Linked DNA regions of Homo sapiens: regions 1, 2, 3, 5 and 6 are each linked to region 4. Evidence: promoter capture Hi-C in 16 types of primary human blood cells and fetal thymus (Javierre and others, 2016). All regions are on one chromosome and are shown on one strand. The core of a region is centred on a gene start or on the middle of the fragment in contact, and the rest is flanking DNA. Distances in the headings are between cores, read along the strand shown. Region 1 overlaps CEP162 (centrosomal protein 162). Region 2 overlaps CEP162 (centrosomal protein 162). Region 3 has its middle 43 kb from the start of CEP162. Region 4 holds the start of CYB5R4 (cytochrome b5 reductase 4). Region 5 overlaps SNAP91 (synaptosome associated protein 91). Region 6 overlaps ME1 (malic enzyme 1).

What was found. The method cuts DNA at HindIII sites, captures the fragments that hold promoters and counts their contacts. A CHiCAGO score of 5 or more calls a contact.
Region 1: a contact is called between a fragment that was not itself captured here and the fragment with the promoter of CYB5R4 in region 4, in 9 of 17 cell types (non-activated CD4 T cells, megakaryocytes, naive CD4 T cells and 6 more). The highest score is 7.1, in non-activated CD4 T cells.
Region 2: a fragment that was not itself captured here is called in contact with the fragment with the promoter of CYB5R4 in region 4 in 1 of 17 cell types (M2 macrophages); the score reaches 6.3 in M2 macrophages.
Region 3: a fragment that was not itself captured here is called in contact with the fragment with the promoter of CYB5R4 in region 4 in 1 of 17 cell types (megakaryocytes); the score reaches 7.3 in megakaryocytes.
Region 5: a contact is called between a fragment that was not itself captured here and the fragment with the promoter of CYB5R4 in region 4, in 1 of 17 cell types (monocytes). The highest score is 6.4, in monocytes.
Region 6: a contact is called between a fragment that was not itself captured here and the fragment with the promoter of CYB5R4 in region 4, in 1 of 17 cell types (monocytes). The highest score is 5.8, in monocytes.

What each region holds. Positions count from the first base shown.
Region 1 is chr6:84,199,664-84,203,355 of GRCh38, reverse strand. It overlaps CEP162 (centrosomal protein 162), which reads left to right. Exons shown (of 27, transcript NM_014895.4): 8 at 1,589-1,619; 9 at 2,451-2,567. Among named protein-coding and RNA genes, the nearest start is that of CEP162, 26 kb to the left of the region's middle. The HindIII fragment of the contact is 2,056 bases long and covers 950-3,005 here.
Region 2 is chr6:84,145,603-84,148,993 of GRCh38, reverse strand. It overlaps CEP162 (centrosomal protein 162), which reads left to right. Exons shown (of 27, transcript NM_014895.4): 25 at 2,209-2,307. It also overlaps a transcript of MRAP2 not described here. Among named protein-coding and RNA genes, the nearest start is that of CEP162, 80 kb to the left of the region's middle. The HindIII fragment of the contact is 6,999 bases long and covers 1-3,391 here.
Region 3 is chr6:84,268,666-84,272,229 of GRCh38, reverse strand. No RefSeq gene overlaps it. Among named protein-coding and RNA genes, the nearest start is that of CEP162, 43 kb to the right of the region's middle. The HindIII fragment of the contact is 404 bases long and covers 1,859-2,262 here.
Region 4 is chr6:83,857,976-83,861,405 of GRCh38, reverse strand. CYB5R4 (cytochrome b5 reductase 4) reads right to left here and starts at 1,717. Exons shown (of 16, transcript NM_016230.4): 1 at 1,549-1,717. The coding sequence starts at 1,623. All of the region lies in intron 3 of RIPPLY2-CYB5R4 (RIPPLY2-CYB5R4 readthrough), which reads right to left. RefSeq lists a silencer at 1,597-1,646. The HindIII fragment of the contact is 3,476 bases long and covers 512-3,430 here.
Region 5 is chr6:83,585,926-83,589,557 of GRCh38, reverse strand. All of the region lies in intron 22 of SNAP91 (synaptosome associated protein 91), which reads left to right. Among named protein-coding and RNA genes, the nearest start is that of PRSS35, 75 kb to the right of the region's middle. The HindIII fragment of the contact is 461 bases long and covers 1,968-2,428 here.
Region 6 is chr6:83,421,401-83,424,702 of GRCh38, reverse strand. The region is part of intron 1 of ME1 (malic enzyme 1); the gene reads left to right. Among named protein-coding and RNA genes, the nearest start is that of ME1, 8.0 kb to the left of the region's middle. The HindIII fragment of the contact is 3,920 bases long and covers 1-3,302 here.

The DNA of each region.
Region 1 (3,692 bases), core at 728-3,227, 340 kb before region 4:
AACTTATACTTTTTCTTTGGTATGACTTGCCTTTATGAAGTATAGTAAATGTCCTTCCCTAATAATTATGCTAGTCACAACATTAACGTCTGAAACTTACTTGGCTAAGATAAGGAACTACATGATTCCATTCACATTCAGTGGTGCTTCATACTCTAATTCTCACATTTCCCAGTTCTTACCAAGAATTGTTCAGGGCTACTACTTCATATTGCCTACCTTATAGAACTTATCTTTGAAGCTATCTAATAGTAGCTAGTAGAACAATTAATATTGTTGTTTTGTTATGTGTTATTACTATTTATTATTTTGGTCTCTATCTGGGCACAGTCTCTTTGGTACTGTGTGTTAGGACTAGATGTTTTTAACATGAATGAAAACGTGGACTCAAAAGAAACACTTTTCAGGTGTCTATAAATCTTCTTATTTTCAAGTTTACTTAGTATTTGGTCCTGGGGTGTCTACATGTCACTCAGTTTTGAGGAAAAAATGAGATGACCTTAGAAATAACATAGAAATTAATGTGATTGATGAATATCCTTAGAAATTTAATGAGATTTATACTTGGAATATGGCAATTACAATATTTTATTGAAAAATGAATAGGTCACCAGCCTGGCCAACATGATGAAACCCCTTCTCTACTAAAAATACAAAAAATTAGCCGGGCATGGTTGGCACATGCCTGTAGTCCCAGCTGCTCGGGAGGCTGAGGCAGGAGAATTGCTCGAACCCCAGGGGCAGAGGTTGCAGTGAGCCAAGATTGAGCCACTGCACTCCAGCCTGGGCAACAGAGCGCAACCCTGTCTCAAAAAAAAAAAAAAAAAAAAAAAAAAAGAAAGAAAGAAAAGAAAAGAAAAATGAATAGGTCAGTACAAGGCATAATAGTGTGGTATATTTAGAAAGTGTACCATATGCATAAAAAGGTATCAGCCTAACTGTGGAAGCTTCAGAGCACTGTCTGGGTAAGAATCAAAATAGGAAGGGATTAAAGCTCTGTTATTGGAAGGTCCCACAAACTGCCTACCCAAGTAGGAGGTATAGGTGATATTAATAGGAAAAGTTATTCTAAGGGAACCTCTAATATTGAAGAACTTCAGCTGTCTAGCTGTTTGGTGGCCTGTCTTTCTGAAAGTTGTATCTTTTGAAACATAGATGAAATAATGAGTACAAGATTTAGTCATTAATTTTGAACAGTAAGGGAAAATAGACTGGTAATGCTATAATTGCAGAACTCTTGTGTGAAATAGCTCTGTTATCTTGACATTCAAAAAAACCAGAGAATTCTTGAGCAAGGTAGATGAGCAAATGGAACTTAAATACTTTAAGCAAGAATTTTTAAGGTCTAAATTAATTTTGGTAATTGCCAAGTTTTAGAAGAGAATTTTAGACATTCTGTCAGAGCTAGTCTTGAAGAATTATTGATAAATGAGAGTCAGTGGTGAAAGAAGCCTAGAAAACACAGTTCCTGATCGTTTCAATGTGGAATAAAAAGCCCTGGATTTCAGATTTTGCTATTATTTGCATTGTGGTAATTTTACATAATTTTGGTTTCAAAACATATCATCATTTTCCTTTTTTAATTTAGGAAGAAGAAAAAACTGGCATGCTTGCTAATGGTAAATATTATTTATATTCATGTTTTAGTTGGCAAAAAATTAGTCTGTTCAGAATTTCATCTCAGTAATTCTGAATGAGTCACTATCTGTGTTTGTTTTTAAATATTTCTAAGGCATTGAAGTTCCTAGCTTTTCTCAATAATGTGTTTCTATCTTGAATCCATTCTGTTATATTTAAGATTTTTTTTGTTATTTTTCTTATGCCCTTTGCCTTCCATGTGTACATGTATACTAGGCTGTTCATAAGCATAGATATGTATGTTGATGTTAGCCTACTGTCTTCTACATCGGAAGAAGATCATATTTGTTATATACATACACACACACACACATAGATAAAACATGCTTGTAACATATATACATATATAAGTTTATAGATTCTTTGTATATAAGCATTTATCTTTGTTTTAATATGCATTGCATTTTGTTTGTTTGTTTGTTTGTTTGTTTGTTGTTTGTGAGACAGACTCTCGCTCTGTTGCCCAGGCTGGAGTGCAATGGTGTAATCTTGGCTCACTGCAAGCTCCACCTCCCAGGTTCTCACTATTCTCCTGCCTCAGCTTCCTGAGTAGCTGGAACTACAGGCGCCTGCCACCACGCCTGGCTAATTTTTTGTATTTTTAATAGAGACGGGGTTTCACCGTGTTAGCCAGGATGGTCTCGATCTCCTGACCTCGTGATCTGCCCGCCTTGGCCTCCCAAAGTGCTGGGATTACAGGCGTGAGCCACCGCGCCCGGCCTGCATTGCATATGTTTAAAATAATTGTATTAGATCAACAGAACCACTGAGTTTATCTACATTCCTTATATTTTTCTTTTATATTCTTCCAGTTGTGCTGCTTGATTCATTAGACTCTGTTGCAGAGGTCAATCTTGATGAACAAGATAAAATAACACCTAAGCCAAGGTGCCTACCAGAAATGACTGAGAATGAAATGACAGGAACAGGTAAAAATGTTTAGAAACCTGACTGTTCTCTAAATATGGAATGCTTTATGACTAATATGACTACATTTCTAAGGAAATATATATATAATAACTATATTGATAATGAAAACTTTAAATCTGACATTTTTCTACCATAATAATAATTTAAATAATTGGAACTTGCTGATGGTGACACAATGCTAGTAGGCCAAGTAAAGTGAGGTTTTAAATAAATATTTGTTAATAAATGAATAAATGCTGTTGATAATAGTGTAGCACTGTAGGTGAACGTTAACTAATTTTCTATGCCTCTCCAGAGTATTCAGTTAAATCTGCCATGTGTAGGAGAAATGGGACTTTGGTCTTATTGTGCTTTTCCATAGTTCTTTCTCTAGGAAAAAGCTACACCCCATCCCCAAATTCTGAAATACCTGAGACCAACTAGACTTTCCTAAAGCTTATAAAGGTCTTTGAGATAATGCCTTTTCAAAATTTTTTAAAGCAGTGGAATGCACATCTTCAGTTGAAATCTATTTTTTTGTTTTGTTTTGTTTTGTTTTGAGATGGAGTCTTGCTCTGTCACCCTGGCTGGAGTGCAGTGGCGCTACCTTGGCTCACTGCCAGCTCCATCTCCCAGGTTCATGCAATTCTGTCTCAGCCTCCCAAGTAGCTGGGACTACAGGCGCTTGCCACCACACCAGGCTAATTTTTTTGTATTTTTTTAGTAGAGACAAGGTTTCACCGTGTTAGCCAGGATGATCTCAATCTCCTGATCTTGTGATCCGCCCGCCTCAGCCTCCCAAAGTGCTGGGATTGCAGGCGTGAGCCACCACACCCGGCCCAGTTGAAATCTTATGTAGAACTCTCTCATAGGTAAAAATGATACTTTATCAGGATAAATATTTAAACTTATGTTTGTTACATTTGTTCATAAAATAGATGAGGACAGTAATGGTCTTTTGGAATTTTTGAAATTAGAAACTATTGAGATTTGTTATGGTCTCATATCACCATCAGCCGTCCAATGTGTTTGTGTTTTTTGTTTTTGTTGAATAGTATAAAAATATTCTTATTTTATCACATAAATAGCTGCAAATGGGAACTTTTTAATCAGCTTGCTTTGCAGTCTATGGATACTGGTTAACT
Region 2 (3,391 bases), core at 466-2,965, 290 kb before region 4:
GTGTCTTCCTTTTTGAAAAATAGGTATATCTACTTAGAATATCTATGAGCATTACCATGTGGCCTGTCTTCTGTACTGTTTGTCACTTATAAAAATAGCATTAAAATAGGACTTTTATCTACAATCTACTTTCAAATGGTATATCCAAGAAAAAGAAAAAGGTGGCAAATCAGCCACCTTTTGGGTTATCAAGTTGAAAAATATATGAATGTTTATTGTGTTCATCTTGTCTGTAGGCTTCAATTTTAAGAAAGAAGGTCAGGGAGAAAAACATCAAGAAAGAATTATCTCACCAAGTGTAATTATTTAATACCATCTTAATTAAAAATAAATTCCTCAATTCGGGAAGTTTGAATATGGACTGGCTATTAGATACTAAGAAATTACTATAAATTTTCTTAGGTATAAAATGTTATGGTTTTGTGAGAAATGCCCTTATTCTAAAGAGATGTATGTTGAAGCATCTGAAGGTTTTGTTTCTTTGAGACAGTCTCCTTCTGTCACCCAGGCTGTCTCAGCTCACTGCAACCTCTGCCTCCCAGGTTCAAGCGATTCTTCTGTCTCAGCCTTCCAAGTAGCTGGGATTACAGGTGCACGCCACCATGCCTGACTAATTTTTATATTTTTGGTAGAGATGGGGTTTCACCATGTTGGCCAGGTTGGTCTCGAACTTCTGACCTCAAGTGATCCACCCACTTTGACCTCCCAAAGTGGCATTTGAAGTATTTAGGGGCAAAATGTAATGAAGTCTGTAACTTAACTTCAGATCGCTGAGAAAAAAAAGGACTATTTGACTACGTTAATGAAAAATACTTAAAGTGCCTTTCGTAAGTAACAATCCATACAGCCTTACAGAGAACCTCTCTGGCCTTATCCTCCATAGGAATAGGGTGTCAGAGGGCAACTATAAGCATTCTATCAAGTGATTTTGTATTAAGGAATAGTCTGGAAGAGGTAGGAAAAGTAGTATCATGATGCCATAGTGCCATAAATGTTATTTTCCCAGCGTTATAAATGTAATATTGTAAAATTGAGTTAAAGAGAAATCAGCATAGTCTGATCATTAAAAATACAGCATTAGAGATAAGATAAATTTTTCCCAATTTCTCTTAGTTTCTTGATGGAAGTATCTGTTCATATATTTCAGTTTACCTAAAGATATGAGACTGACATTTATTTCACAGATATTATGAGGCTTATGTTATATTTAAGCCATAGTTCTTAAATAAAAACTATCATACTTAACCACAGAGTATAAAGATAATATTGTCTACCTTTTTCCAAATGTGTAGACTTTATAGAGCTTTATTTTAAAAGGACTTTTTCTAGTCATGAAAAATGTTCATATTTATTTTCCCCCCCTTTTATTGATATATAATGATTTAGATATTTATAGGATACATGTGAGTGTTTGCTACATGCAAAGAATGTGTAATAATCAAGTCAGGGTAATTGGGATTTCTGTCACCTTGAGTGTTCATCATTTTTATGTCTTGGTATCACTTCAAACTCTCTCTTCTAGTTACCGTGAAATACACATAATATTGTTGCCAAGTACAGTCACCCTGGTCTGCTATTAAACATTAGAACTTATTTCATCTATCTAACTGTATGTATGTTTGTACCCATAACCAACCTCTCTTCATCCTTCCCAACCCCCCACTCCCATCTCTGGTATCTATTGTTCTATTCTCTGTGTTCATGAGATCAAGTTTTTTAGCTCTCATACATGAGTGAGAACATGCAGTATTTTTCTGTGCCTAGCTTACTTCACTTAACATAATGACCTTCAGTTCCATCCATTTAACTGCGTATGACATTATTTCCCTCTTATTTAAGGCTGAATTGTATTCCATTGGGTATATATATCACATTTCTTTTCGTCTGTTGATGGGAACTTAGATTGATTCCATATCTTTGCTATTGTGAATAGTGCTGCAATAAACATGCAAGTGCCAGGTGTCCGTTTGATATACAAATTTCTTTTCCTTTGGATAGATACCCAGTAGTGGGATTGCTAGATAATACGGTAATTCTATTTTTAGTTTTTTGAGAAATCTCTATAATTTTTTTCCATAGTAGCTGTGCTTACTTACATTCCCACCAACAGTATATAAGAGTTCCCTTTTGTGAGTTGGCTTTCTTATATTTTTCAGATAGTGTTCAAGGAGGAGCTTTATTAACTCAGCACTTCTAACAATTTCCTAGGTACTTATAAGACATTTCCAAAGTCAAGTTAATGAGCTGCAGAGTAAACAAGAGTCTCTCGTAGTTTCTGAAGTTCGAGAAGAAATTCTACAGAAAGAGGTAAGAAATGGCCAAAATATTGGGCTAAAATAAGTTTTTCTTAGGCATTTCAATCATATTCATATTTATAAATTTTTTACCTAAATGTACAAATAGATATAACCTGAAAGTATCACGTCAAGAAAATATTAGCAGCGTGCTTATGTAAAATCTGCTTTCCCCAGGTGAAGTTCAGATATTAAGTCATTAAGTTGTCTATGTTTTATTTGCTGTTGAGATTTTGTGGGTAGTGGGGAAAATGGGACGGGAGATGTTTGGGTTTTCTGTTTGTTTTCTTCAGGAGACAAAATTGAATAGTGAAGTCCATTTCTGTGTTAAGTAAAGTACTGTCAGGGAGGAAAAATAATTTTTTCCTCAACCCTCATGAGTTTTTAGTTGAGACAGACCCCATAACAAAAGACAGATTAATAAGAGAAAAACAAGTTTATTAATACGTGCAGCACACAATGCAGGAGAAACCACAACACAAAGTAACTCAAAATGGTGGCTTAGAACTCTCCAAGTTGGTAGCTTTGAAGAGATTTGGATTAGAGATTGTGAGATCAGGGATTGGCAAAGGAAGAGGAAAACATAGATTGGAACAAGTGCAGCTGAACAAATTTAAGTACATTGCCCCATATCAAATCATTGTCTTAGTGCTGAGAATAGGTCAATTCAATTAAGCAGTTGTGTCTCATTTCAGGAGATATTGCAGGTGAGCTCTCATCAAAGTTAGGCCTCTATATGGTGATCTAATAAGAGGCATTTCTATGGAAACAAAAGAAAAACAAAAGTTAATGGTAGGAGTAGTCTGTATACTAATTTCTGAATCTAAGAGCAGCTAGTCAAGAGTTCTAGATGTTGGGCTCAAAGCATTTTTTACAGTTTGAGTATGTCTAGTTATAAGACACGCAGCAATAGGCATGAAAATTGTCCGTATATTAGCTGTTGTGGTGACTCTCTGCAGTTTATATCAAGTCATTCAGCTTCAGCTTATTAAGATTTCAGGAAAAGGGCAGTTAAATGTTTTAGTGATTCCAAGGCAGGAGGGTAGGAGAAAAATTTGAAATACTAGTTTGGAGAATTATAGACAGAGATCTAGACC
Region 3 (3,564 bases), core at 811-3,310, 410 kb before region 4:
CCCTACAAGGCCTCTATAGCCCATCCCTACACAAAACCCTCTTGCTTGTATCCTGTTAGTTAGTCAAATTGAACTGCATGTCATTCCCCCAAACAAGCTTCTTTCCTTAAGCCTTTGCTGTTCTGTCTTTCTCTACAGTGTCCTTCAAATTATTAGTGTGAAATTCTGTGCATCCTTCAATACTCCACTCATAGGCCACTTATTTGCAAACATTCCCTTATACCCTCAGCTATGGGTCCTTTATTGCCTTTCTGGGGGAAGGAACCAATGTTTGCTGAACACCTTTTATACATTAGGCACAGTGCTGGGCATTTTCTATGTGGTATCCTATTTAGTGTTCAAAACACCCCTGTGAAATGACTGCAAATTTTCCCACTTCTCAGATAATGAAATAAAAAGGTAAAGAATGTGTCTAAGTAAGGAAGTAGCAGAGTCAGAATTTGAGCCCATGTCTACCTGGACTGCAGAGCCCGTGTTTGCTTCTGTCCACCGAGCCCATTTATTATCTCCCTCACTTTTCCCTCAGAGCATCAAATTTGAAATGTGGTATATGTATTCATCAGTATCTCTATAATGTTATGGATACTTTCAGGTCAGAAACTTGGTCTCAAATATCTTTGCATCCCAGAGTAGCTGCTGCCATATCTTGAATAGTAGAAACATACATAATGTGATATTAATATGAAAGTGCTCCATCAGGCATGACTCACAAACTTCTATCTTGTTTCCAGATGCAACTTAACTCATCAGTGAACAGCCATGGAATCATGTATCCACACACACATTAATGTAAAGAACCAGATATAAAATTCTCACCAGTGTAATTCTCTAAAGAAATTCTGAGCAGAGCAGAAACTAAAGAAATTGGCCTTTGGTGTTTGCATCTGGCAACATTTGAGAAGGATAGGATACTGAGTGTCAGCAAATTCTGAAAATGCTTTGTTTATTTGTTTAGATATTCAAAGTGAGCCATTTGCCAAGTTTGCAGACCCAAGTACAAGACTAAGACAAAAACAAGTGTTTCTTCTCAGCCAATAACAGCATCTAATACCATCTGGAAACCTACACCAGTTAAGAAAGAAACAAATATGCCTTTTTTCTTTCCTTCTAAGTCCTCAAAGCTTGTAAATCTGGGATCTGTTGGGTAGAGAAAAGAGAGTTCCAAAAATGGGGACCCTCCATAAAACTCAACCCCCCTGGCAAACAAGATTTCAGATCATGGAGACAAACAGAGATCATGTTTATTCTCATCTCAGTGGCTCAGGAATAAAATAAAGGTTGCTTCTATCTCTGTCCACATTGAAAGAACTCCATTGTGAGCCAATTTAGTGTCCAGTTCAACCCTGTAAATTACCATGATATTTTTATTGATACCATGAAAAAATACCCTTGCTTCTCTATTGTCACAAAAGCATGTTGTTAAAACACTTAAAATGCCTTGGCACACTTTAAAAGTGCTTTATACAAAAGAGACATGAAATTAATGGCCCATTTCAGTCAACACGTCCCTCACAATGCTTTCTTTCCCCTTCCTCAAAGCCACAGAATAAACCAAAGTGGGTCCAAATAAGACCTCTGAACATTTCTCTGATGGTAATAACATCTGGGTAGTAAGGAATGGGAATCAGTGTTACAATCTCCCTTCATACTCTAATGTACACATGAACAGCATTAAGCTAGGTTTACCATGAGATTTCACTTTTCACTGAAGTTTTAATTGCCAACCCTTACTATGTCATTTCTGTGAGGGAGTTTGGTAGTTTACTCCACATTTTCTTGCTTCCCAAATCTTTCTCTTGGTGTGCTCCTACCTACTTCTTTCCCTGCCTCCTCTTTTCATGCCTCCATTCAGAAAGCTTCAGATCCAGGGTAACTGCTCACCATTCCATCAGCATCATTTTTTTAACCTATATTATCCTAACCACACAGCAGTTTCCAGCCATCAAGCATATAATCTTAGTTGCACATTAGCCTGGAAATGGACTTTCCCCCACTCTGGTTATCTTATCCACAACATGTGCAAATATTACCTCATTCATCCTTGTGCTGGTTCCAGAGATTAGCCCCAAAACTGTCATGATAAATGTACAATTTTAAAAATAGTCAGTTTCCTCAAACTTCGTCAGTCGTTTTAAATTTTATTCCCTATGATGACGTGGCCACTAGAGCTTGTCATTTTTCTACCGTTTCATTTCCAAACATTGAGGCCAAATACGATGTCATATGTTCTAGTAGCATAGCACTTATCTAAAGGAAAAAGCTTACCCAGGGCTTTTAAGAATGTTTTTATTTGTTATAATAACACACAGACTGCAAGTTGAAAAACATATTTTTAAGGAAACCAATGAGACAGGCTTTAACCTTTAACCATGAAAAAGACTCCTTAAATATTTCAAAAGAAAGATAAATTTTATTCATCAGACAGATTAAGCATTGATTGGCAGAGGTTTTTTCATCAGTATTCAATACTGACAAAATCATTTCATCTATTAGTCAAGCAGCAATTTTGTCACTTTGTTAGAAGCATCATGCTGGTATTATGAAAAGTGTTAAAAAGTAAAAAATTTTGTTCCTATCCAAATAAATTTAACATTTATTCTTTTTTTAAAAAAGAATATAAATAACATTAAGTGTCTCCTATTTTCTAACACCAGTGATGTCATATTTAAATAGCATAAATGGAAGATGATATAATGGATTTGAAAATAGAAGACCAGAGCATGGACTTAGTGAAGTGACACAGGGCAAATCTCTAATTTTTCCTAATTTGTTAGAAGTAATCTGCTCTCCCTCAAAGTGCCTGGGGACCATCAAACAAAAAATTCATCTGAAAATGCATTGAAACCATAAAGTACTATACAAATGTATGTTATCATCTCTGCCAGTTTTTAGTCCCCACTCTTAATTTTCAAAATCATCAGGGTTAGTGCTCTGTACTCCATTGGCACACATTACATCCTTGTTTTCCAGCATTGACCACATTGCATTATAATTATATCTATATGACTATTCCTTCTATAATATACTTTGGATGTGTGTCCCCACCCAAAACTCATGTTGAAATGTAATCCCCATTGTTGGAAGTGGGGCTTGGTGGGAGCTAATTGGATCATGGGGGCAGAGTTCTCATGAATAATTTAGCACCATCCACATGTTATTGTTCTCACCATAGTGAGTTCTTCCGAGATCTGGTTGTTTTAAAGTGTGTGGCGTCTTCCCCTTGGCTGTCTTGCTCCCGCTCTGACTATGTGATGTGCCTGTTGCCACTTCACCCTCCACCATGATTGTAAGTTTCCTGAGGCCTCCCCAGAAGCTGAGCAGATGCCAACATCATGCTTTCTGTACAGCCTGCAGAACTGTGAGCCAACTAAACCTATTTTCTTTATAAATTACCCAGTCTCAGGTATTTCTTTATAGTAATGTAAAAATGGCCTAATACATATTAGTACCCTGCAAGCTTCTGCAATTCAATTGATCTGTATATCACCAGAGCCTAAGATGTCCTGGTATGCATGTCTCTTGAGTGATTTACTTGCTAAGTGAATATTGATATAAGGTCCCTAT
Region 4 (3,430 bases), core at 468-2,967:
AACTTGGTTCTATTTTCTCAACCTCTACCCATTTCATCCAAACCTGACTCAGTTTTTACATTCTCAGCATCATCTTGTTTCACAAAGAAAAGAGGAAGAAGACTGGAGTCTGACTTTTCCTTAGAATTGCACAATAATCTTATTTTGTTCTCTTTTTGGACCAAAAACTCACCTTTGCCATCGCCCCCTGTGTGACTTTTTGTCTTTGCTTCTAAGTTTTCTCCTTTAAATGGATGCTAAGAACACAGTTGGTATTTTTAACGAAGAAGGGCAGTAACTCATATTCTAATTCAGAGATTCTTTCTGGAAAGACTGTTATTCAGTCAAGTATTTAGCTTCAAGAAATAGGTCAAAAACCAATGAGAAAAATATACATGATTGGATGGCTAGATGATTGATATATGAATCAGTAAATGAAATTTCACAGCAGAACCACAACACAAGCCTACGCAATTTAGGGCAATATTTCTTAGCCAGTTTCCTTTTCTGCGAAATAGAGACAATAAAAGCTTTCACTTCAAAGGATAATTGTGAAAATTAAAGTTAATACATGCAAAGCACTGAGAATATACACGGCCACCCGTAAGTACTTAAGAAATCTCTGGAAAGCTAATGAAAACCACAGATCCCTGAACCTATATTCATTCTGAACTAGAATCAGAACGCCAGGTCTAAGTGGAGAAAAATAAGAAAATCGATAAGGGTTCCAAACGATGCTAAGACTCAAGAGTTAACCGAGTGGCCCAAGTTAAGTGGAAGTGTCACAAACGAAAGATAAAGATATGGTTACAGAATGAGGAACTAACAAATAGGAACAAACAACATTCGCAAAAGAACAAAGAACACAATTTTTATTGAATTCTGCAAATATAAAATATATCTGTACAGTATTCCACCTGTTGCTAACAGCAACTGTGCTCAACAAGAACTCAAGAGTATTATTATATTTGCTTCGAAGTTAGCAAGTGATACTAGTAGAAAAGGCAATGACAAAACAATCAGGTACCAGAGGAAGAAAGAAAGGCAGTATGTCTTGGATAGTGTCTGTAAACCTGACCTAGCTCCCCAACTCCAGAAGTCCCCATCCTTGCACGGACGGTCACTGTCGCCACTGCCAAGCCTTTCCCTCCTGCGAGGGAACCCACATCGAGTGATGTGGTACAACTCCTTCAGGCAGTGAAGAACAAAAGACCAGGGAGAAGATGAGGTTGAGGGAAGGCGGCTAATACCGAGAGCCTATAATACCGCAAACACAGTGCCTGGCTCTGTCATATAAATTTAAATCGCGGGAAAGGACTTGGAGGAAGGGAACGGATAGAGCGGGATAAAGGACCAGAAAGAAGAGGGACTGCTAGGGGAAAGGGAGGAGGTAAGGAGAGTTTAGGGACTGTAGACAAAGTGGGATCAGAAAGAGGTTGCAGGCAAGGACAGCAGGGAACGACAGCTTAGAGAGGGGTGCAGGAGCTGGGAGTTGGGGCGGAAGAAGAGAACACACTGCCAGAGCTCGAAACGCAGCGAGGGGAGAGACTCACGGAGCCACCCGCTTACCTTGCTACGCCCCCCGGAGGCGACACGCTGCTGCGACCTGGGGGCCGGGAAAGACTGGGAAGGGACGTTCAGCATCTTCAAACCCCGGCCCCGGGCCCTGCCCGGGGATCGCCGCCAGACGGGACAGCACCTCCAGCTCCGGCTCTGTGGCCGGGCAGAGGCCAAGCCCCCGACCCACTTCCGGGGTCGCCAGGGGTGAGGCGCATTCTGACGCAGCACGTCCGCGGAGGGCGGAGCCAACGGGACGGAGGGAGGGCCGGCAGGGAGGAAGTACGCATGCTCAGCTAGTTCCGCATCCCGAACTTCAGCACCGGAGCAAGGTGACAGCTATTTCGTGGAAAGATTAGAGAGTGAAGCTGTTCCTTAGCCTTGGTGCTGACCGAATGTGGGAACAAATTCTTAGTCCTGTTAACCCGGAACAGCAATGTCTGTTCATTGTTAAGCAGTACCATCACACTACTTGAAATATGGACTAAAACACACTACTTGAAATATGGACTAAAACGAATTTTAGTTTCTCTGAAATTCTTTCCTGTAAGGCACTAGGCTGTAATGCAAAGAGCATCTCACACCTTTAAGAGCAAAAATATCAAATGTCAACAGCCACTACTGTGGGGTAAGAAGAAAACCTCACCTTTAATCATCCTTAAACTTCACCTTTAAGCATGCTGAGGGCTAATGAATGCGCGAAAGACGTTAGTAAAGTCACCTTCTGCTCTATTCACCCACTCACAAATTCTCCCTCCTTATGTAACTTCCTGTCTTCACTGGGAATTGTGTACTGATGCAGCTCACCTCCAGCTGTGGTGATGAAGTAACGTTTAAAAGTCAGATTTGGTTTGCATGCCATCCCTGCACTTAATGACTGAGCTGTCTTATGCAAGTTACTTTAGTATCTCAAAGTCTCATTTTCCCCATCTGCATAATGGGTTTATTAAAGATTAAAGGATCATGTGTAAACTACATACTGCAGTGCCTGATTAATATTAGGTACTGAATAAGTGGCAGTGGCTGTTTGTGCTATTCCAACATATTAATGGGAAAAGGACCAACACTGTGCAGGTAAACACCAGGCTCTAATGCTCAAAATCTGATGGTTTTTGTTTGTTTGATTGATTGTTTTGTGTGTCCCTTGGGGAACACATAGATCTTGAGAGTAGAATCCAATAAGGGAGAAAGTTTTCAGGAGAAGAAACATAGTTCTAAATAATCCTCCCCATCCTCCTTTAATTACTAATTTTTCCTAACTCTGAACATATTGTCATGCTTTAAACTTTCTCTGTTTAACTACTTAGTTCTTAAAGTGCCTAAAAAATCAAGGTTATGTTTGCAGAATCAGAAGAAAAAGTGTGTGACTATATGTGGCCATTCAAATACAAGCATTCAAATAAGGTAGCCACCTATGACATTCACCTCTATCCATTTTTATTTGCAATTGAAATGCTTATTATGAGAAGACTGAATTTGAGCTAAAAGAACCTCATGACTATAATTAACTGTATTACTTTGACTTTGCAAATTGCTTCTGTGTTCTCTCTCATTAAATGATGACATATTCTTCTAGAGTCTACACAAGAAAAACTAATCACTGAGATTTATTTCACTTCTCGTGAGAAAACTTTTACATAAGAATATCAAAAGCAGAGAACCAGAGCAAGGAAAAGTTAATATTGTTGAAGAATGTTCCATGCTTTCCAAATTTCTTAGCTCCCCTTTGTACAGAAATGGAAGATGCTATCAACTTCTGGCCTTTAGACTCCACTTTTTTAGACTCCATATCAATCACTCAAATTTAAACGTTTTGTTTTAATTCTAGGGATCCCTCAATGTAGTACATTAAGTATTAAACATCCATACTATTTTACTACTGGATTTAAGGACT
Region 5 (3,632 bases), core at 949-3,448, 270 kb after region 4:
AGGGCCCCACCATGATATTGCTGAGAACTTATGCTGAGAAGCTAGCATAAGAAATTTTAACTTACTTTTAATTTCCGTAGGGCTTAATTTTGGGGGCTAATTTTTCATACTTCCCTGTTTTGTTATAGAAAAATATTTCTCACCCTTGTTCAAGTATCAAAACATAAGGAAATCATATTCTCACTAAAGAACATCATGGAATATTTGGAAGTTGCAGAGATGATAAGAGGCAGTACACTTAACACAAACCACAGCTGGTTACTTGGAGAAATAAACTGCTAGTTTGCCTGGCTTTTATCCAGGCCTAGATATTCTTATATCAGCTTCCAATTGGCTACAGAAACTTTCAAACTCTTACTAAACCAATAAACTTCATACACATTTTGGGGGTTCAGCAATAAGATTTTAACATGCCACAGAAATAGCATAGTTTTAATGGCTATTTGAGGGATCATGACCTTGTTAACTTTAAAATGAGATTAGTGATTACAAACATTTTGCTTTGAAGTTATAATTAAGATTAAAACGGCCCATAAAATCAAATATTCTGGCCTTTCACAGAAGCCTATGAATTCTTTCTTTCTCTCCTGGGTATCCCATCCCCTGCCACAGATCTCAAATGGGAATTTGAAGCCTACCAGACAGTAGCCTGGCAGAGCGGTCAGCCACTGTTGACCACCTCCAGTGCTACACAGCCACATTGTCTACTCCAGGATCCTCCTCCATTGTGGCCTCTCTGTGTCCTCCAAGGCTAGAACCTGAGATATTGTGTTTCTCAAAGAGCCCAGAACACTAGAAACTGGAGCTGAAAGGCCTTTTCCTGTGGGAAAAGGGAGTGTTCCCATCCAATTCCAAGTTAGAAGTCAGTAACAGAGCCAAGAGATTTGACCCTGGGGGATGCAATAAGAATCTAAAAACACATCTAGAACAAGCCTGAAGGGGTTTGTCACCTGCTGCCAGGTGTAACTGCACATACCTGTGCCACAGCTGCACAGCTTGGTATATGGACAGGTCCAGCAGGGGAAGTCTACAAAAAAAGTATGTTAGTTCACTTTACAAAAAATAAAATTATTCAATTGTGTTGTCTATTCTGAAATCTTATTAAAATGGGGTAGAAAAGAGGAGAAAATCATCAATGAAAGTACCCAATGTCATCTACATAGGTCTCATTTACTACACACTTTCCATTTCTTCTACTGCATCTTCTTGTGACTCTTTCAGTGATAGGCAAAGTTATATATTGTGTACACTTTCTTATTTCTCTCTTTTCTATTTAAATAAATTAATATTCAATGTAAATCAGTATAGATGAGTTTAATGTCTCATTTGCTTTCAAAACAGTTCTTGTAATTTAATGTATACATATGTCAGTGCCTGATTTATTTGGCACAATGTGAAATATTATTTCACCTTATATCCTGATATAAGGGGTTGGATGCAGTGTCCCACAATCATAATCCCACCACTTTGGGAGGCCCAGATGGGCAGGATCACTTGAAGTCAGGAGTTTGAGCCAGCCTGGCCAACATGGTGAAACCCTAATCTCTACTGAAAACAAAAAACAAAAATAAGCTAGCATAAGAAATTTTAACTTTTAATTTCCATAGGGCTTAATTTTGGGGGCTAATTTTTCATACTTCCCTGTTTTCTTATAGAAAAATATTTCTCACGCTTGTTCAAGTATCAAAGCATAAGGAAGTCATATTCTCACTAAAGAACATCATGGAATATTAATATAATTCTATCCTGTGAACTAGGAGCAACTTTCCTAGCCAAAAACAAAAAAATAAAAAATGAAAAAAATTCTGCTAATAAACGCAATATAAAACCACAGTCACATTTATATTTGTAACCTAGCTGACAATTGGCTGTTTCTGAGTTTTCACAATTCTCGTACATTTTTATTTAATGCATATTAAGTAGGACAAATATTTGGGGCACTGTGTGTAGTAATTTGCAGTGAAGCTTAGCATTTGTATTATAGTTGTGTCTGTGTTTATTTGGGGGAGGGATCAGCTAAGTCCACAGTCTATTGAAACTAAGAAGATTTTTAAAAAAAAATAAATAAATGAGCCTAGTCATACATAGCAAGCCCACAAATATGATCAGAATCAAAGAGAGAGAAGAGAGAAAAAGATTCTCTAGAATCCTGTGATTGCCTTTAGTAATAAAACTGTTTTGAGAAAGAATGAAAAAGAAAAATAATATGCAGACACTGTCATGGGAGGTTTAGACTGTTCAAAGGGAACCTTGGTCACTGGACTAAGGACTCTTACCCCATGCCTAAGATTAGATTTTTTTGAGTGAATACATTTACATGTGAATCATAAAGATAAGGCAATAAATATATGATATAATTAAATTTTAAAATGATTTTAGAGATTTTAAACTAAACATTAAGAACCATTTTAAAATTGAGGCGAAAGCTTTGTTAAAAATTGGTATCATTTTGAAACTTGAAAACAAAGACTAACTAGATAGTCTTGAAAATGAACCTATCTATCATAAAAACTATTCTTCTTTATTCAAATTCAGTTTTAGAACTGTCAGATAATACCAATTCCAGAATTAAACAGCACTTGAAATATTGCCTTAGTCGTCTTCTACCCCTTGAGTAAAAATTTTAAGGTGTTTGGTGCATGCAGTATAGTGAAATGATAAAAAATTCTGGAGAGGACAACTTCCAAAGAGGCCAGACTAGAAAAATCATTATCAAAATAATGAAGAAAGGAAGGAATAATGGGGGTGGGGGGAAGCAGAGGGGAGAATCCATAACAACAATGAGTAATTCTTTCCAAGCCATTGAGATTACTGGTAGGATACAGATATTATCCATATCTCAGGTAACATCTGAATGAAAACTTGAAAGTTAAGTTTTTAAATAATAAAAGTAAATATTTCATACAGTGAAGAGTAAAGCTGTCAAACTCTGCTCAAAATATACCAACTGAAAATACAGATGTTTGAAAGCTAGAGGCAGACTACTGGATGACAAAGGTAAAAATGGACTGTTAAGGAAGTTAGGTGTGTTGAGGAATATGCCTAACATCTGAGGTTGGCATCGAGCAGGACAACCATGTTTTTCCATCATAGACACAATTTTAGGGTGACTGCACTATAAATCTGTACTAGTATAAGAGAATTTCACATCCTATCTTTAATTGCAAAGACAAGGGACTATATGGTCCAGCCTATGAGGCCCTTTGTAGTTTTGCATTTGTTCTCTTAACCACATTAATTGCTTAAAATGAGCCACAGAAGTCCTTGAACTGAATTTAAAATACAAACATGCCCAGTGTGGCATTAAAAAGTAACAATTTCCTATAAAAGGTAAAAGTCTACAGAGGATCAATTCTATCATCCTGTGTGGAAGTGTCTTTAGCAGTAGTTTTAAAATTGCACTCTTGTGGCCGGGCACGGTGGCTCATGCCTATATAATCCCAGCACTTTGTGAGGCCGAGGCGGGCAGATCACAAGGTCAGGAGATCGAGACCATCCTGGCCAACATGGTGAAACCCCATCTCTACTAAAAATACAAAAATTAGCTGGGTGTAGTGACACACGCTGTAATCCCAGCTACTTGGGAGGCTGAGGCAGGAGAATGGCTTGAACCCAGGAGGCAGAGATTGCAG
Region 6 (3,302 bases), core at 493-2,992, 440 kb after region 4:
AATTGAAGCAAAATTTCATAATACAGCACTTTCCCTTGCTTTGTTTAGTAGACATTTTCTGGACTTTGACAGGAACATGTAGGTGAGAAGCAGTAATGATCTAATCAGTCAGGTTTGCTTGTAGCCATTGCCAATTTTTGACAATCTCTGTCTTTTGATTTTTGTGTTTAGGCCATTTACATTTAATGTAATTGTTGATACACAGAGAGATAAACAGATTTCTATCATATCATAGGTGTCTGTTCCCTTATTTTTCATTCCTCTATTTCTCCTTTCCAACCTAATTTTTAATTACTTAAATATTTTTATTATTCCATTTTGATTTATTCTGTGAGTTTTTGACAATATTTCTTTGTATAGCTTGTTTTTAGTACTTGGTCTGGTGATTATGATACACATACCGAACTTTTCACAGTCAACTTAAAGTTAAAATTTCACCACTTCAATTGAAATATAGAGATCTTACCATTATATAGATCTCATTACCTTCCTCTATTTATGTTGTAGTTATATGTATTATATCCTCTTATATCTCTATATATGTATTACACAAATATTTTTAAAATAGTAATTTAATGTAATGTTTATACCTTTTTTTTTTTTTTTGAGACAGGGTCTTGCTCTGTTATCCAGGCTGGAGTGCAATGGCGTGATCACAGCTCACTGCAGCCTTGACCTCCCAGACTCAGTCCGTCCTCTTGAGTAGCTGGAACTTCAGGTGCACACCATCATGCCTAGCTAATTTTTGTATTTTTTTGTAGAGATGGCATTTTGCCATGTTCCCCAGACTGGTCTGAAACTCCTGGGCTCAAGAAATCCTCCCACTGTGGCCTTCCAAAGTGCTGGTATTATAGGTGTGGCCTGTAACTTTTATTTATTTTTATTTTATTTATTTTTCATTTTTTTTTGAGACAGAATCTTGCTTTGTCATCCAGGCAGGAGGGCAGTGGTAACATGGCTCACTGCAGCCTTGACCTCAAGGCTCAAGCAATCCTCCCACCTTAGCTTCCTGAGCATCTGGGACTACAGGCATGTGCTACCACTCCTGGCTAATTTTCATATTTTTTGTAGAAACACAATTTCATCATGTTACCCCATCTAGTGTCAAACTCCTGAGCTCAAGGTGTCTGCCTACCTCAGCCTCCCAAAGTGCTGGGATTACAGATTTGAGCCACTGTGCCTGGCCCTAACTTTTGTTTTTAACTGTCACACATATTTTAAAGAGTTTAAGAGGGAAAGGATAATCTATTAGAGTTATCCAGGTAGATACTATTTCTGTTACTCTGTTTCATTCCCCATGTTCTGTGTTTGTTTTGGGGTATCATTTCTCTTCCATTTAAAGAATGTCCTCTAACATTTTTTTAAAGCAGGTTTGCTGGAAACTAATTGTCTTAGTTTTTCTTCCTCTGAGAATGTCTATTTTATCTTCATTTGTGAAGGATATTTTCAATAGTTATATAATAATGAGTTGACAGTTCTTTCCCTTTAAGACCTAAAAAAAAAAAAGCCATTTCTCTTCCTCCCGCCCTTTCTTTTTCCTGATGAGAAATCTGCAGTCATTCAAGTTGATATATGTTTGTAATACATCAGTTTTCTCTGGATGTTTTAATGGTATTTTATTTTTCACTTTCAGAATCTTAAATATAATGTTTCTGGGTTTGGAGGTTTTGGGGTTTATCTTCTTGGGGTTTTCTGAGCTTCCTGATTCTGTAAGTATATGTCTTTTATCAAATTTGATATGTTTTCAGCCATTATTTTCTCCAAATATTTTTTTCTTTCTCCTCTCTTTCTGGGACTCTGATGATACAAATGTTAGGCCTTTTGATATTGTCCTGAGGCTCTGAGCCTCAGGTGACTATATGATAGTATCAAAAGGCCTACTTTTTTAAGGACTTGTTTTCTCTTTATTTTCCAAACTGATTTGTTTCTAATGATTCAGCTTTAAGTTCACTGATGCTTTCTACTCTCATCTCAATTCTGTTCTTCAGCCCATCCAATGAATATTTTATTATAATTATTGTATTTTTAAGTTCTAAAATTTCCATTTGGTATAGCTTTTATTTCTTGTCCAATACTTTCTTTCCATTTATTTAGAAAGACTTTGCCCTTATGTTCTTAGGCATGGTTATAATAACTGATTGTAAGTCTTTGTACATTGTACAGAAATTTCAAGGTCTGACACCTCAGGATTGGTGTTTGCTTATTAGTCTTTTATTTTCCAAGTTAACGTTTTCCTGTTTCTATGTTGAGTGATTTTTTAATCTATTCTGGACATTTGCATATTATGAGATTCTAGCTGTCAGTTGTATCTTAAGGGGAATACTGTTCTTCTTTGCTTTAGTGGTCACTCAACCTGGTTAGGTGATTTTGCAAGTTGGACCCACCTGTGGCCTGCGGTTCCGATATCAATTTGGTTTTCAAAGTCTACTCAGTAGTACTGTTTGTATTTGTCCATTATGTGTACCGCCCAGTGGATAGTGTGGGATCTGTGCAGTAGTCTATGCTATAGTTTACTTCTCAAAGCCTTTGGTATGCTGTTTAAGGTCAAATCTATGCACGTTTAGCTCAAAAGTGAGTGTAGAAGTTAATATACAACTTTATGGGATTGCTCTCATGAGTTCCCTTCTTTCTGTGATCTCTGATATTTTTTGTTTCCATGAGGACCCCCTTTCCAGTCCTCATGGCCGGAAAACTGGGCTTTTGTTTTCCTGCCCTGCTGTGTACTTCCTCCAGATTTATTTGCATCTGATGCCATACGATTGGAAGACAGAGAGAAAGTTGCAACAGGCATTTGACCTACGATCTTGAGACCAGCTCTATATCCTCTGGTAAAAAGAATGATTCCCTTACCTTAGAATTTTAGGCATCTGTCGTGGTTATTGCTTCTGCCATCCCCGTGGGATTACCTGGGAGTTGGGACTAGAGAGGTGGAAAAGAATATTGGATGTTCTTCCTTCTCTGACCTTTAAGCACCCCCTTTCTGATTCTTGGACCAGAAAGATAAGGCTTCTCTTGGCAGTCTTTGTACACAATCAATTGCACTTCCAGCTTTTCTGCTGCTTTTGAGTCAAGGCCAGTTGATTACAGCAGAGAGAAAAAAAAGCCAGGCCATATTGGAGGAAAAAATGCCAGGAAACTTAATCTGGTTTTGTCGTACTTTAGATTCTAATCTTCTTCCTTAGTTCTTCTGCTATCATGTATTTTTCAGTCTTCAAATAGCTGCTCAACGCATTCTATACAAGGATTATTGTTGGATTTAGTGGGAGAGACAAGGTATACTATAGCTACCACTTTGCACAGAA